5 separate regions of the Homo sapiens genome follow, and all the other regions are linked to region 5. The links are contacts of gene promoters, found by promoter capture Hi-C in blood cells and fetal thymus (Javierre and others, 2016). All regions are on one chromosome and are shown on one strand. Each heading gives the region's core, a stretch centred on a gene start or on the middle of the fragment in contact. The rest is flanking DNA. Distances are from core to core; before and after follow the strand shown. Region 1 has its middle 26 kb from the start of WDR17. Region 2 overlaps LOC107984113 (a long non-coding RNA gene). Region 3 overlaps LOC107984113 (a long non-coding RNA gene). Region 4 has its middle 97 kb from the start of WDR17. Region 5 holds the start of SPCS3 (signal peptidase complex subunit 3).

Region 1 (2,700 bases), core at 9-2,508, 280 kb before region 5:
CATTTAGCTCCCACTTATAAGTGAGAACATGTGGTAATTGGTTTTCTGTTCCTGCATTAGTTTGCTAAGGATAATGGCCTCCAGCTCCATCTATGTTCCTGCAAAGGACATGATATCATTCCTTTTTTCTGGCTGCATAGTATTCCATGGTGTATATGTAATACATTTTATTAATCCAGTCTATCATTGATGGGCATTTAGGTTGAGTCTGTGTCTTTGCTATTGGGAATAGTGCTGCAATGAACATAGGCATTCATGTACCTTTATGGTTGAACAATTTATATTCTTTTGGGTATATTCCCAGTAAGGGAATTGCTGGGTTGAATGGTAGTTCTGTTTTAGGTGTTTGAGGAATTGCTGTACTGTCTTCCACAGTGGGCAAACTAATTTACACTTCCGCCAACAGTGTATATTCATTCCTTTTTCTCCACAACCTCGCCAGCACCTGTTATTTTTTGACGTTTTAGTAATAGCCATTCTGACTCGTGTGAGATAGTATCTCATTGTGGTTTTAATTTGCATTTCTCTAATATTCAGTGTTATTTAGCTTTTCTTCATATGACTGTTGGCCACATGTATGTCTCTTTTTGAAAAGCGTCTGTTCATGTCCTTTGGCCACTTTTTAATGAGGTTGTTAATTTTTTTCTTGTAAATTTGTTTAAGTTTCCTATATTAATAGATGCTGGACCTTTGTCAAATGCATAGTTTGCAAAAATTTTCTCCCATTCTGTAGGTTGTCTGTTTACCCTGTTGATAGTTGTTTTGTTTGTTTGTTGTGTTTTGTTGCTGGGGAGAAGCTCTTTAGTTTAATTAGATCCCAGTTGTCAATTTTCGCTTTTATGGCAATTGCTGTTAGCATCTTCATCATGAAATCTTTGCCCATTCCTATGTCCAGAATGGTATTGCCTAGGTTGTCTTCCAGGATGTTCACAGTTTTGGGTTTTACATGTAAGTCTTTAATCCATCATGAGTTAATTTGTTTAAATGGTGTAAAGAAGGAGTCCAATTTCAATCTTTTGCATATGGCTAGCCAGTTATCCCAGTACTACTTATTGAGTAGGGAGTCCTTTCCCCATTGCTTGTTTGTATTGACTTTGTCAAGGATCAGAGAGTTGTAAGTGTGCAGCCTTATTTATGGGCTCTCTATTCTGTTCCATTGGTCTATATGTCTATGTGTCTGTTTTTATACAAGTACCATGCTGTTTTGATTACTGTAGCCCTGTGATATAGTTTGAATTCAGGTGGCATGATCCTCCAGCTTCTTCTTTTTGCTTAGGCTTGCTTTGGCTATTTGAGCTCTTTGTTGGTTCCATATGATTTTTTTTTTTTTTTTTGTCTAGCTTTTAGTGAACTATCATTGGTAGTTTGATAGGAATAGCATTGAATCTATAAATTGCTTTAGGCAGTATGGCCATTTTAACAATGTTTTCTCTCTCTATCCATGAGCATGAAATGTTTTTCCATTTGTTTCTGTCATCTCTGATTTATTTGGGCAGTGTTTTGTAGTTCTCATTGCAGAGATATTTCACCCCCATCTGTTTAGCTGTATTCCTAGGTATTTTTTCCTTTTGTGGCAATTGTAAATGGGATTGCATTCCTGATTTGGCTCTCAGCTTGACTATTCTTGGTGTATAGGAATGCTAGCAGGTTTTGTACATTAATTTTGTATCCTGAGATGTTGCTAAAGTTGTTTATCAGCTTAAAGAGCTTTTGGGCCAAGACTATGGAGTTTTCTAGATATAAGATCGTGTCACCAGAAAATAGGGTTAGTTTGACTTCCTCTCTTCCTATTTGGATGCCCTTTATTTCTTTCTCTTGCCTGATTGCTCTAGCCAGGACTTACAATACTATGTTGAATAGGAGTAGTGAGAGAGGGCATCCTTGTATTGTGCTGGTTTTTAAGGGGAATGCTTCCAGCTTTTGTCCATTCAGTATGATGTTGGCTGTGGTTTTTTCATAGATGGCTCTTATTATTTTGAAGTATGCTCCTTTAATACCTAGTTTATTGAAAATTTTTAACATGAAGGGGTGTTGAATTTCGTTGAAAGCCTTTTTTGCATCTATTGAGATAATCATGTGATTTTGTATCTTTAGTTCTGCTTATGTGATGAATCACATTTATTGATTTATGTGGAACCAAACTTACATCCCAGGGATAATGTCTATTTGAGGGTGGTAGATATGCTTTTTGATGTGCTGCTGGATTGGGTTTGCCCATGTTTTGTTGAGTATTTTTGCATTGATGTTAATCCAGGATATTGGCGTGACATTTTCTTTTTTGTTGTGTCTCTGCCAAGTTTTGGTATCAGGATGATGCTGGCCTCATAGAATGAGTTAAGAGGAGTCCCTTCTCCCAAATTTTTTGAAATAGCTTTAGCAGGAATTATGCCAGCTCTTTTTTGTACATCTGGTAGAATTCAACTGTGAATCTGTCTGGTCCTGGGCTTTTTGTTGTTGTTGTTGGTAGGCTGTTTATTACTGATACAATTTTGGAGATAATTTTTTATCTGTTCAGGGATTCAATTTCTTCTTGGCTCAGTATTGGAAAGAGGTTTGTGTCCAGGAATTTATTCATTTCTTCTACATTTTCTAGTTTATGGGCATATAGGTGTTCATAATATTCTCTGATGGTTATTTGTATTTGTGGGGTTAGTGGTAATATTACTTTTGTCATTTCTAACTGTGTTTATTTATTTGGAC
Region 2 (2,700 bases), core at 101-2,600, 400 kb before region 5:
ACTCACACCAAAAAGAAGAAATCTGATATTGGAGAAATGAAAACTTTTCCAAGGTGGTATAATGAAATAAAAGGAAGAAAGCAATTCAAGAAGCCCAATTTGAACATCTCTACATAGATGAAACTAGCTCATTTGATTTCCCTTCTAGTGGAATGAAGTCAAAGTCTGGAAAAAGATGAGTTTATTTGGGGCTTACAGTAACACTTACATTATAAAACTCTGACAAACTCTAAAGCAAAAATCTCTAGCTACTGGTAATTTTAAATCTACCTAACATAAAATTTAATTGAATATGAAAAAGCTTTCAACTTTTCTTTTCCTATCTTTTCTTCATTTCATTAACTGATGAAAAGAGATACTGTATTAGCAGTTATAAACAGAAACACATCATTGCCCACTACAATTGCCCTATAATTTAATCAGTACATCTTGTAGCTCATTTTTATCTGTACTGGTAACTAAAATATAATCCACGCTTGTTATTTGTCTAGGATATCATAATAACATGACTTCATATGTAGATACTATATTATTCATATAAAAATTGATTTATAAATCTTTTTCTAGAAAATATAAATGCTGAATCTTTGCTAAGGTATAGGTTAAACAGTTATTACAAACTTTGTCAAAGACAATCTTTATAGTCCCTGACATTTCATAACATGATTTATATATATATATATATATATATATATATATACACAACATACAAGTGAAAAGATTAACAACTTGAGAGTGTTTTTTCTTTAGAAGAATATTTTACTGCAAAGGTAGAGAGCCATGGGAATGTGTATGAGCACATTGAATTTAGAGTTCAAGTTCTGGCTACGAGATACCTGGGAAAGTAACACACATTGAATAGTGAGAGGCAAGCATATACCTGCCTCATCAGCAGATGAAGTGTGAGCAGAAGTCGGTGATGGAGGGGAAGGTTCCAAGCCTCCAATACTCCATGCTCACCTTCCTGCAGTTTTGGGGTTTTTTTTGTTGCTTTGTGTTTTTTTGTTGTTGTTTGTTTGTTTTTAAGACAAGATCGGGCTCTCTTGCCCAGGCTGGAGTGCAGTGGCGTGAGCTTGGCTCACTGCAGCCTCTGCCTCCCATGCTCAAGTCATCCTCCCACCTCAGCCTCCCAAGTAGCTGAGACCACAGGCATGCACCACCATGCCCAGCTAATTTTTGTATTTTTTGTAGACACAGGGTCTCATCATGTTGCTCAGGCTGGTATCCAACTCCTGAGCTCAAGAGATCCTCCTGCCTCAGCCTCCCAAAGTGCTGGGATTACAGCTGTGAGCCATCATGCCCAATCTCATCTTTCTGCTTTTGAATCAAGTCCTCATGGCTGGCATTGCCTCAGCCATCTTGATATCATAAGACAACAAGCATGAAGAGTAAAAATGGTCATCATTCCTGATTTGCCTGGGATCATCTAGGTTTGCCTAGAATAGTCCTATTCGAGTATTTGTCCTAGGTATTTCCTTTCAAATAAATAATCATTATTAATAGTTGCACTCAAATAAGCAAAGATGCATTTGGTAGCTCTCTACTTTCTACTTCCTGCTTCCTGTTTCTGACACGACCATATTAGTAGCGTGTGGGAATCTTATGCAACAATTAGAGCTCTCATTTTAACACATGCTTAAATCTAAAGGTTAGCAGTGACCTGTCTTTATTGCTGACGTTCGCCAAATGAAATATTACTCAAATCACCTTACAGAAACAGCAGGCAGTATAATTAAAGACAAAAAGAATTACACCGGACACCATTTTCTAGGAACAGACCAAAGTGGCAGTGAGAGAATGCTTTGATGCTCCTGCCATTCCGACCACACATTGTAACCCCCAAAGGTGCTGTGGCCCTTGCTAAAGACTGCGAAAGGAACACAGCAGACAGGCCACTAGTCAGAGAGATAAGTAAGGAATATGGGAAAGGATAGGTGAGGTGTATATGAAATATATGAGGGAAATCAAGGCTGAGTGCTTCTGCCTGAGAACGAATCAAGAGAAGCCTGAGGCCAAGTGGGATGGCTCAAGCCTGTAATCCCAGTACTTTGGGAGGCCGAGGCACACGGATCACCTGAGGTCAGGGGTTCGAGACCAGCCTGGCCAAAATGGCAAAACCCCGTCTCTACTAAAAATACAAAAATTAGTCAGTCATGGTGACCCACGCCTGTAATTCCAGCTACTTGGGAGGCTGAGGCAGGAGAATCACTTGAACCTAGGAGGCAGAGTTTGCAGTGAGTGGAGATAACACTACTGCACTCCAGCCTAGGCAACAGAGTGAAAATCTGTCTCAAAAAAAAAAAAAAAAAAAAGAGAGAAGTCTGAAATACTTGTGCTACAGTGGTTTTGTCATTTATTGTGTGGTGCAAATCTACAATTATTTATACAATTTATTTTGGGAAAGCTTTTTAATTTTGTAAAGAACATTAGTTCTTAAGTTCATGTTTAATGAAAATATTAATACCACACTTCCATTTATCATCTGAGAGAAATTAATAATGAATATGTAAGTTTTCAAAGTGTTTGTCAACCAGGGATCATAATAATTACTATACCTGATCACATGAAAATCAGAAACACACAACCACTGAGGAAGAATCAGCAACTTTTTAAAAGTCTGGCAGTTATATTATGAAGATGGTAACGGAATACAATGATTTACGATGTGAAACTGGAAATGGGTGTTTACACATCACTCTG
Region 3 (2,700 bases), core at 55-2,554, 370 kb before region 5:
GCCAACCAATATCAAGCACCTGCCTTGTGTGAAGCACTGTTCTAGGGTCTGGGTCACAATCATGAAAAGATGCATAAATCTCTGTGTCATGTAGCTTCCATTCTTCTAAGGGAGACAGACAAAAACTAGTAGAAAATAAATTACACTATTTAGATGATGGTAAGAGTTCTGGAGTGAATAAATGGGTGATGTGATGAAGATGAACTGTCAAAGCCTACTTTTCTAGGTGGGTCAGGGAAGACGTTTTTGAGGCAGGTGGTCCATAGAAGCCAGCGATGTGAGGCAGAGCATGTCAAGAACAGGGAACCGCAAGCACAGCTGTGGAGTGTCCGAGGGATAAAGATGGCAGCAGCCCAAGCACTGTGGGCAAGGGCAGGGCAGGACGATGCCAGGCTACAGAGGTGGGCAGAGGACAGACAATTGGGGCCTGGTAGAGCATTCTGGGGCTTGGATTTTTAAAATGCCTTTATCCTACCATCACATTTCAGTGTTTCTGATTTGGGGAGTGATTTATAAGAAAGGTGCCTTTAAGAAAAACCAAAATATGCTTATTCACGCACAACTTCTGCTCAACTTCCTGAGAGGAAGCCAAAACTGGAGATTACTGCTGTACTGGAAGCCAGATCAAAAAAGAAAGCAAAATCATTTAAGAGCCTGCATTTGAAAATGCTTCATTTATAGGATGAAATGAAGTGTGTGTGGCTTTCTTATTGCTTTCTTCAAGCCTAGATATATTAATCATCATCTTCATTAAAATCCATTTGATGCCATAAAAGGACCAAATAATTTTCTTTCTAATTTTCAGAAACTGAGTGCTGTTATATAATTTTAAAATCTAACTACAGAGTCTTTAAAAAAAAAAAAACACTAGCTCGAATTTCCTCAATAATTCTGGCTATTCGTTTTTCAATTCTTATGTGTTTATTTTCCATTTGAACATTTAGCATTAGAAAATCTTCCTGTGATTTCCACAGCAACCACTAGAGGGAAAACTTCGACTGAAGAAAGTCATTTAAAGACACTATCTTAATAATATTTCTTAAGTACAATATTAAGTATAATATTTCTTAAGTCTAATATTCTTAAGAATAATATTTAAGTCTAACATTCTTAAGAATAATATTTATTAAGTGTAATATTCTTAAGAATAATATTTCTTAAGTCTGAAGAACTCAAAAATAATGATGTCTTCAAGATAAAATATTATAAAAGCACATCATAAATCCCACATGCATTTTCAAGTTATTCCTGATAATAATGAGCATTTGTGTTGTAATACGTATTCTGCAAATGTTCTTGCATTCATTACCTCATTTGTTTCTCCAGATGAATGGCTAATAGAGCAGGAACTATGATCACTCAGCTAAAATAAAAAAACACAAATAATTTAACCAAAGACACCCGACATTTTAATTGCACAATCAATATTACTACTGAGGGCTGAGTATATTTTTCAAGTACACTATGTTGTCTCCTCACTACTTTTTTCAAAGAAAATATGAAAATATTGTGTTCTCAATTTCCTCATCATATTCTAGATTTTTTAGTAAAATACCTAGAACACAGTAGGCACTTGATAATTAGTGAATGTATGCATGCATTCATATATGAATAAAAAGATGAATGAAGGAACAAAGCCCTACTTTTTTTCTATGCAACACTATATGCCAACATAGCACCTAGCAATAGCAATAGCAATAGCAATAGCAATGTGTTTTCCAAACACATCCCATTTCAGAGTTAGTAAATGCAGAGGACACCTGAAGATAATACTTGCAGCTTAATAAGTGCTACAGAGAGGACATGTTTTTGTGATTTTTTGCTCCAATATTATGATACCCTCATGTTATAGACAGGATGTGTCCCCCTGAAAGTTCACATGTTGAAATCCTAACCCTCAAAGTGATGGTATTAAGAGGTGAGACCTTTGGGAGGTAATTAGGTCATGAGGGTGGAGCTCTCATAAATAGAATTAGTTTCCATAAGAAAAGACATGAGAGAAATGATTTTTCTTTCCTTCATAGAAGAATACAATGAGAAGATGGCCATCTGTGGGCCGGGAGGAGGGCCCTCGCTGAGAACCTGACCATGCTCACACCCTGGTTTTGGACCCCCAGCATCCAGAACTCTGAGAAATAAAGGTTTGTTGATTAAGCCCCACAGTCTATTGTATTGTGTTACAGCAGTCCAAACTAAGATGCCACATCTGATTCTACCTCCTTTACATTGTTTGACTTTTGAATATTTGAACTCTAAAATTATGATCAATCCATCAAACTTTATATAATTCATTATCGTAACTCAAAAACACAAATATATCATATGGGTTAATACAACCACATAAGAAATCAGAAAATGCTAACTGGAAGTGAGAAGAATTATAATTGTGATTCTGTCTTTTCCTTCTGCAGGAATCCTGAAACACTGGCCACAAAGTTATGCTATGGACTCATGCCCCTACGCAGTAAAATAACAATGTTAATACTAACTTACTATCAATTGTTACTAGATTGAGCAAAGAACAATCATTAAAATGCCATAGATCCTTGAAAACAAGCAATAATTTCCTGATAAAGATGAGATACTTTTCTTATTCTACCAACAAGACTGCATTTGGTGGTAAGTGTGTGTGTGTGTGTGTGTGTGTGTGTGTGTGTGTTGGGGGGATGTGGTGGAGGGATGAGGTAGATTTGGATATCT
Region 4 (2,700 bases), core at 51-2,550, 350 kb before region 5:
TTACCATTAGAGAAATGAAATACCTAGGTATAAATCTAACAAAATATACACAAGAACTATATGAAAAACTACAACATTCTGATTAATGAAGTCAGACAAGATCTACATAAATGGAGGTACCCCATGTACATGGATAGAAAGAGTCAATATTGTCAAGATGTCAGTTCTTCCCAATTAGATCTATAGTTGCAATGTAATCCCAATCTAAATCTCAGCCAATTATTTTCAAGTTATCAATAAATTGATTCTAAATTTTATATGGAAAGAAACAGAAAAAATACAACATCAACAGCACGATGTTGAAGGAGAAGAACAAAGTTGGAGGACTGATATCACCTGACTTTAAGACTTACCACAAAGTTATAGCAATCAAAACAGCGTAATACTGGCAAAAGAATAGACAAATAAATCAATGGAACGGAATCGAGAGCGTAGTAATAGAACTACACAAACACAGTCAATTGATCTTTGGCAAAGGAGCAAAAGCAACTCAATGAAAAAAAAAACAGCCTTTTAAACCAAAGATGCTGGAACAAGTAGACATCCATAGGCAAAAAAAGAACGAATACAGAAGGAGTTATTATAGCTTTCACAGAAATAAACACAAAGGACATCATAGACCTAAATGTAAACCACAAAACTGTAAATATCTTAGGGGATGACATAGGAGAAAAATGTAAGTGATTTTAGGTTTAGTGATGAATTTTTAGACAGATTACCAAACATATGACTCATGAAAGAAAATATTGATAAGATGGACTTCATTAAAATTAATCATTGCTGCTTGGCAAAAGATGCTGTAAAGAGAATTAAAAGACAGGCCACCAGCTGGGAGAAAAATCTTTGCAAAACACATATTTGATTAATGACTGGCATCCAAAATATATCAAGATTTCTTAAATATCTACAGTAATAGAACAGATAACCCAATTAAAAAACGGACAATAAATCTGACCTAACATCTCACCAAAGATGACATAGAGATTATAGATTATCATATGAAAAAATACTCCACATCATATGTCATTTAAACAACTGAAGGATAAAAGAATAAGATACGTTTACACACTTGTGAGAATGGCAAAAATCCAAAACACTGACAATATCAGATGCTGGCAAGGATGTAGAGAAATAGGAGTTCTCATTCATTGATGGGCTGGTAGAGATGCAAAATGGTACAGCCATTTTAGAAAACAGTTTGGCAGTATTTTATAAAACTAAAAATACATTTGGCATATGATTCTAGGTATTTACCTACATGAATTAAAAACTTTAGACTACACAAAATTTATGGATATTTATGGCAGTTTCATTCATAATTGCAAATAACTTGGAAACAACCAATATATCCTTCACTAGGCGAATAGATAAATTGTAGCACTTCCATGCAATGTAATGTTTTACAACAATAAAAAGTAATGAGCTATCAAGCCATGAAAAGATAAGGAATCTTAAATACATATTATTAGGTAAAAGAAGCTAATTGAAAAGGCTATGTACTATATGACTGCAACTATATGACATTTTGGAAAAGACAAAATGTCTATAGAGACAATAAAGTGATCAGTGGTGGCAGAGGTCTAGTACAAGGAGGGAGAGAAGGCAGAGCACAGGGGATTCTTAGGGCAGTGAGACTATTCTGTACAATACTCTAATAGTAGATAGGTATCATCATACATTTGTCAAAACTCAAAGAATGTGCAACACGATTGATTGACCCCAAATGTAAACTATGGACATTAATAGTAATATATCAGGTCAGGCAAGGTGGCTCATGCCTGTAATCCCAGCACTTTGGGAAGCTGAAGCGAGAAGATCATTTGAGGTCAGGAGTTCGAAGCCAGCCTGGCCAACATGGTGAAAGCCCCTCTCTACTGAAAAAAAGAAAAAATTATCTGGGCGTGGTGGTGGGCACTTGTAATCCCAGCTACTTGGGAGGCTGAGGCAGGAGAATCTCTTGAACCCGGGAGGCAAAGGTTGTAGTGAGCAGAGATCATGCCACTGCACTCCAGCCAGGGCAACAAAGCAAAACTCTGCTCAAATAATAAGAATAATAACAACAACAATATATCAACATTGACTGATCAGTTACAACAAATGTATCGCAACAGGGCAAAATATTAGTAATACCGGAAAGTGTGTGTGGAGGGATGCAGGGTAAATAGAACTCTATGTACTTTCAACTCAATTTTCTATTAATCTAAAATGGCTCTAAAAATAATGTCTATTAATTTTTTAAAACCCACCAAAAGGCATACAATCATCTTTTGAAAATGAGTAATTATTAAGCACAAAAATAAAGCAATTTAACTACTTTTACTTTCAGGACCAATTCAGCAATTACTTTCAGATATTATTGTTCCTTAAAACACAATGACGCCGAAATATTCCACTGTGTCCTTCCTTTCTCCTTTCTAAAAACATTTTTCATCAAAGAAAACTTCTCCTACTGAAAAATATTTGGCAAATTATCTGGAAATAAAACTATTTTGCCCTTGCACTTTGCCACCTCTCAATAAACAAGTTTGTTTTCACCGGAAATCTGATTTTTTGGCTTTTAAACAGAAACACACCAGACTTGTGCTTTGTAACAGAGAAGGAAACTGAGGGTTGAAGGTCAGACTCTCATTGCAGCAAACACATGAACCCCTCACAGCAGCCAAATGCCCTACAGTTTTCAGAGACACAGTAAAGTGAACT
Region 5 (2,700 bases), core at 109-2,608:
ACTTGCAGTATAGATGGCATTCAATAAAAATCCTTTTTTTTCTTTTTTTGTTAACAAACTGTGCCAGCCTGGAAGTTAAAAACTAAGATTTTAAACGCAACTAAGGATCTCTCTTTAGTCTCTATTTTATCGATTTTTCATTAGTTGGCTCTATTTGAGCAGGGAGTCTGCCTTATTAGTGCTGTATTCTCAAGGCTTAGAACTATTCCTGGTACACGGTAGGCACTTGGTAATAATCCTACCTGTATGGCTATACAAAAATTAATTGAATGGTCATGAATAATGCAAAGAAGCAAAAGCTTAACAAGAGACAACATAAGCCAGTATCAAGATCAGATGTTCACAGTTTTCTGGTTTGTTCCTGATCACATTCCAGGACAGATATTTTTGTTTGGTTTATGGACTGAAATTTTTAAAAAAAATTTATTTCAGCAGACCCTGAATCCATTTTTATAAAAACCCTTAGCTGTGAAAGGAACAAAGGTTTTGGCAGATAGTATAATCAGAGTCAGGATTGGCTCGGTTTGAACCCTAATGCCCTTCAGGATATTGAAAATGTGATAAAATAATTGCATTATTTATTAATGACCCAACGAAATTCTTATACATTATGCTGTAGAGCAATTCCGCAGCCATTATCTTCTTTGCTCCTAAGAACCCAGAAAGGTTATCCTTTTATTTATCAGAAATCACCATGTTAAAATGCAAATACTTAGGATCGGTAGCCTCAACCCTTATCTTCTAAAACATCTTTAGCTATCCATACAAAGCAAAGCATTAATAGGAATTGGACTGACGTTGGAGGTGGAAATACTGATGCACGTGACAGCTTTAAGGACTTGGGCGGCTAATTCCCCACTCCCCACTGCTCCTCAGATCCTCCAAAAAAAGCTCAAGTCCTAACTTTGACCAGGTTTGACAAAGAAGGGAGAGGACCAGGCGTTTTGTAAAGTGCTGCTTCCAAACGCCACCCGTCAGGACAGATTCTAAACCACCTTAACTTGCTGCCGGTTTCAAGTGAAAATAAATGGTACATAAGTAATCAAGAAGTCGCAGTCCCAGACCTCTGACCAAAGAACCGAAAAAGGACAGCGAACGACCGGTTCCCAATTCTCTGAACCCAAAGGTCGGAGAAGCAATTTAGAAGAGGAGGGGGTGGGTCTTCCACAACAAACCCCGCCCCTCCCTCACTCGTCGCTGATTGGTGGCGGCGTTAGGCCGCGACGGAGGGGCGGGCCCGCGGCTGAGTCTCTCCCTTTCCGCGCCGCCCCGTGCGCGCTGTGGGTGTGTTTCGGGAAGCGGGCGCGCGCGCGCTCGCGTCGGAGGACCGGAAAGGAGGCGGGGCTGCGGCGGCGCGCGCTCCCGGAACGCGCGCACCGCAGACGGCGCGGATCGCAGGGAGCCGGTCCGCCGCCGGAACGGGAGCCTGGGTGTGCGTGTGGAGTCCGGACTCGTGGGAGACGATCGCGATGAACACGGTGCTGTCGCGGGCGAACTCACTGTTCGCCTTCTCGCTGAGCGTGATGGCGGCGCTCACCTTCGGCTGCTTCATCACCACCGCCTTCAAAGACAGGAGCGTCCCGGTGCGGCTGCACGTCTCGCGGATCATGCTGTGAGTGAGGCCGGGCCGGCGGTGCAGGACGCCGGGACCGGGCTGGGGCGGAAGCCGAAGCCGGGCCGCCGCGCCGGGGCTGCCGTGCCGGGGCCGCGGGCAGGGCGTCCGGATCGCCCTCCTGAGCGGCAGTTCGCCCCCGAGGGCGGTCGTCAGGGGTGGACGTCGCAGGCTTTTCCGGCGTCCCCTCGGAACTTGCACCCCTCCACCGTAAATTCCCGGGCTTGCTCTTAAATTTTAATTTTGAGCGTTCCTCAGGTCGGTGCCTCCGCTTGCTTCCTGTTCCTCACTTCCCTCCACCCACGCCTGGCCAATGAGGGAGCAACACAACAGCAGAGCCGGCGCCGCCGCCCGCCTGGGCTGGCGCCTCCCGCGCGTCCGGTGCCGCTCGTGGTCCGCATGCGAGGCCCTCCAGGCGCTGCCGCCGCGCTCTGGGTCGGGCTTCCGTGGGGTTTCCTGGCGGCTCTGGAGGCCACAGGACGGGGTTGTCTTTGTGTCATTCATCACCCGAGTTTGCCCTGTTTGACATTCCCTTTACAGTTGTTGCCTTTGCACCTTCAGAAGGCAGTAAACAGTTGGAGCTGCTTTGAAGTTGGCCAGAGATGTTGGGCACTGAGAGAATTAAGCATCTTAGCCTTCTGATACAGCGAGATTTTTGTTTTGTTGGGTTTCTTTATTTCTTTTTCTTTTGCCAACCACTTGAAGAAGTCTGCGAAAACGCCAAAAAATGCAGTTCGAAATGACAGTGCCATTTCGCTATTGCCTATTTTGTCCTTGATTTTATTCTCTGGCACTTTTGTCTTTAATCGTCGTATTTTTCCATCTCTTGTTCTCATACCCTTCTACTCTATTTCCGTCTTACACAAGTTCTTTAACCTTAGTTTATTTCTTTGTCAGAATCGCCAAGAAGCCAGTTATCAAATAGCGAGCCTTCTCCCCCCACCTTTTTTTTTTTTTTTTAAATTACTGTACTGATGTTTGTTAGATATTGTTCGAATAGACCTGGGGTGGACATCAGCACTGCCATTGTCAGCCCTGTGAGGGTTAGAAGAGCTTGGTGCATATTAAACACTGAACAGATGTTAGCT

The links. The method cuts DNA at HindIII sites, captures the fragments that hold promoters and counts their contacts. A CHiCAGO score of 5 or more calls a contact.
Region 1: a fragment that was not itself captured here is called in contact with the fragment with the promoter of SPCS3 in region 5 in 1 of 17 cell types (monocytes); the score reaches 5.5 in monocytes.
Region 2: a fragment that was not itself captured here is called in contact with the fragment with the promoter of SPCS3 in region 5 in 1 of 17 cell types (monocytes); the score reaches 5.1 in monocytes.
Region 3: a contact is called between a fragment that was not itself captured here and the fragment with the promoter of SPCS3 in region 5, in 5 of 17 cell types (monocytes, total B cells, naive B cells and 2 more). The highest score is 12.0, in monocytes.
Region 4: a contact is called between a fragment that was not itself captured here and the fragment with the promoter of SPCS3 in region 5, in 1 of 17 cell types (total B cells). The highest score is 5.4, in total B cells.

What each region holds. Positions count from the first base shown.
Region 1 is chr4:176,038,473-176,041,172 of GRCh38, forward strand. No RefSeq gene overlaps it. Among named protein-coding and RNA genes, the nearest start is that of WDR17, 26 kb to the right of the region's middle. The HindIII fragment of the contact is 5,754 bases long and covers 1-2,700 here.
Region 2 is chr4:175,922,548-175,925,247 of GRCh38, forward strand. The region is part of intron 3 of LOC107984113 (a long non-coding RNA gene); the gene reads right to left. It also overlaps a transcript of GPM6A not described here. Among named protein-coding and RNA genes, the nearest start is that of GPM6A, 110 kb to the left of the region's middle. The HindIII fragment of the contact is 2,103 bases long and covers 300-2,402 here.
Region 3 is chr4:175,946,336-175,949,035 of GRCh38, forward strand. It overlaps LOC107984113 (a long non-coding RNA gene), which reads right to left. Exons shown (of 4, transcript XR_001741924.3): 3 at 1,310-1,363. It also overlaps a transcript of GPM6A not described here. Among named protein-coding and RNA genes, the nearest start is that of WDR17, 120 kb to the right of the region's middle. The HindIII fragment of the contact is 6,999 bases long and covers 1-2,700 here.
Region 4 is chr4:175,967,671-175,970,370 of GRCh38, forward strand. It overlaps a transcript of GPM6A not described here. Among named protein-coding and RNA genes, the nearest start is that of WDR17, 97 kb to the right of the region's middle. The HindIII fragment of the contact is 3,233 bases long and covers 1-2,700 here.
Region 5 is chr4:176,318,608-176,321,307 of GRCh38, forward strand. It overlaps SPCS3 (signal peptidase complex subunit 3), which reads left to right and starts at 1,359. Exons shown (of 5, transcript NM_021928.4): 1 at 1,359-1,612. The coding sequence starts at 1,470. SPCS3-AS1 (SPCS3 antisense RNA 1) reads right to left here and starts at 1,903. Exons shown (of 4, transcript NR_186171.1): 1 at 1,538-1,903. RefSeq lists an enhancer at 1,170-1,670 and silencers at 1,653-1,772, 1,893-1,962, 1,993-2,072. The HindIII fragment of the contact is 6,231 bases long and covers 298-2,700 here.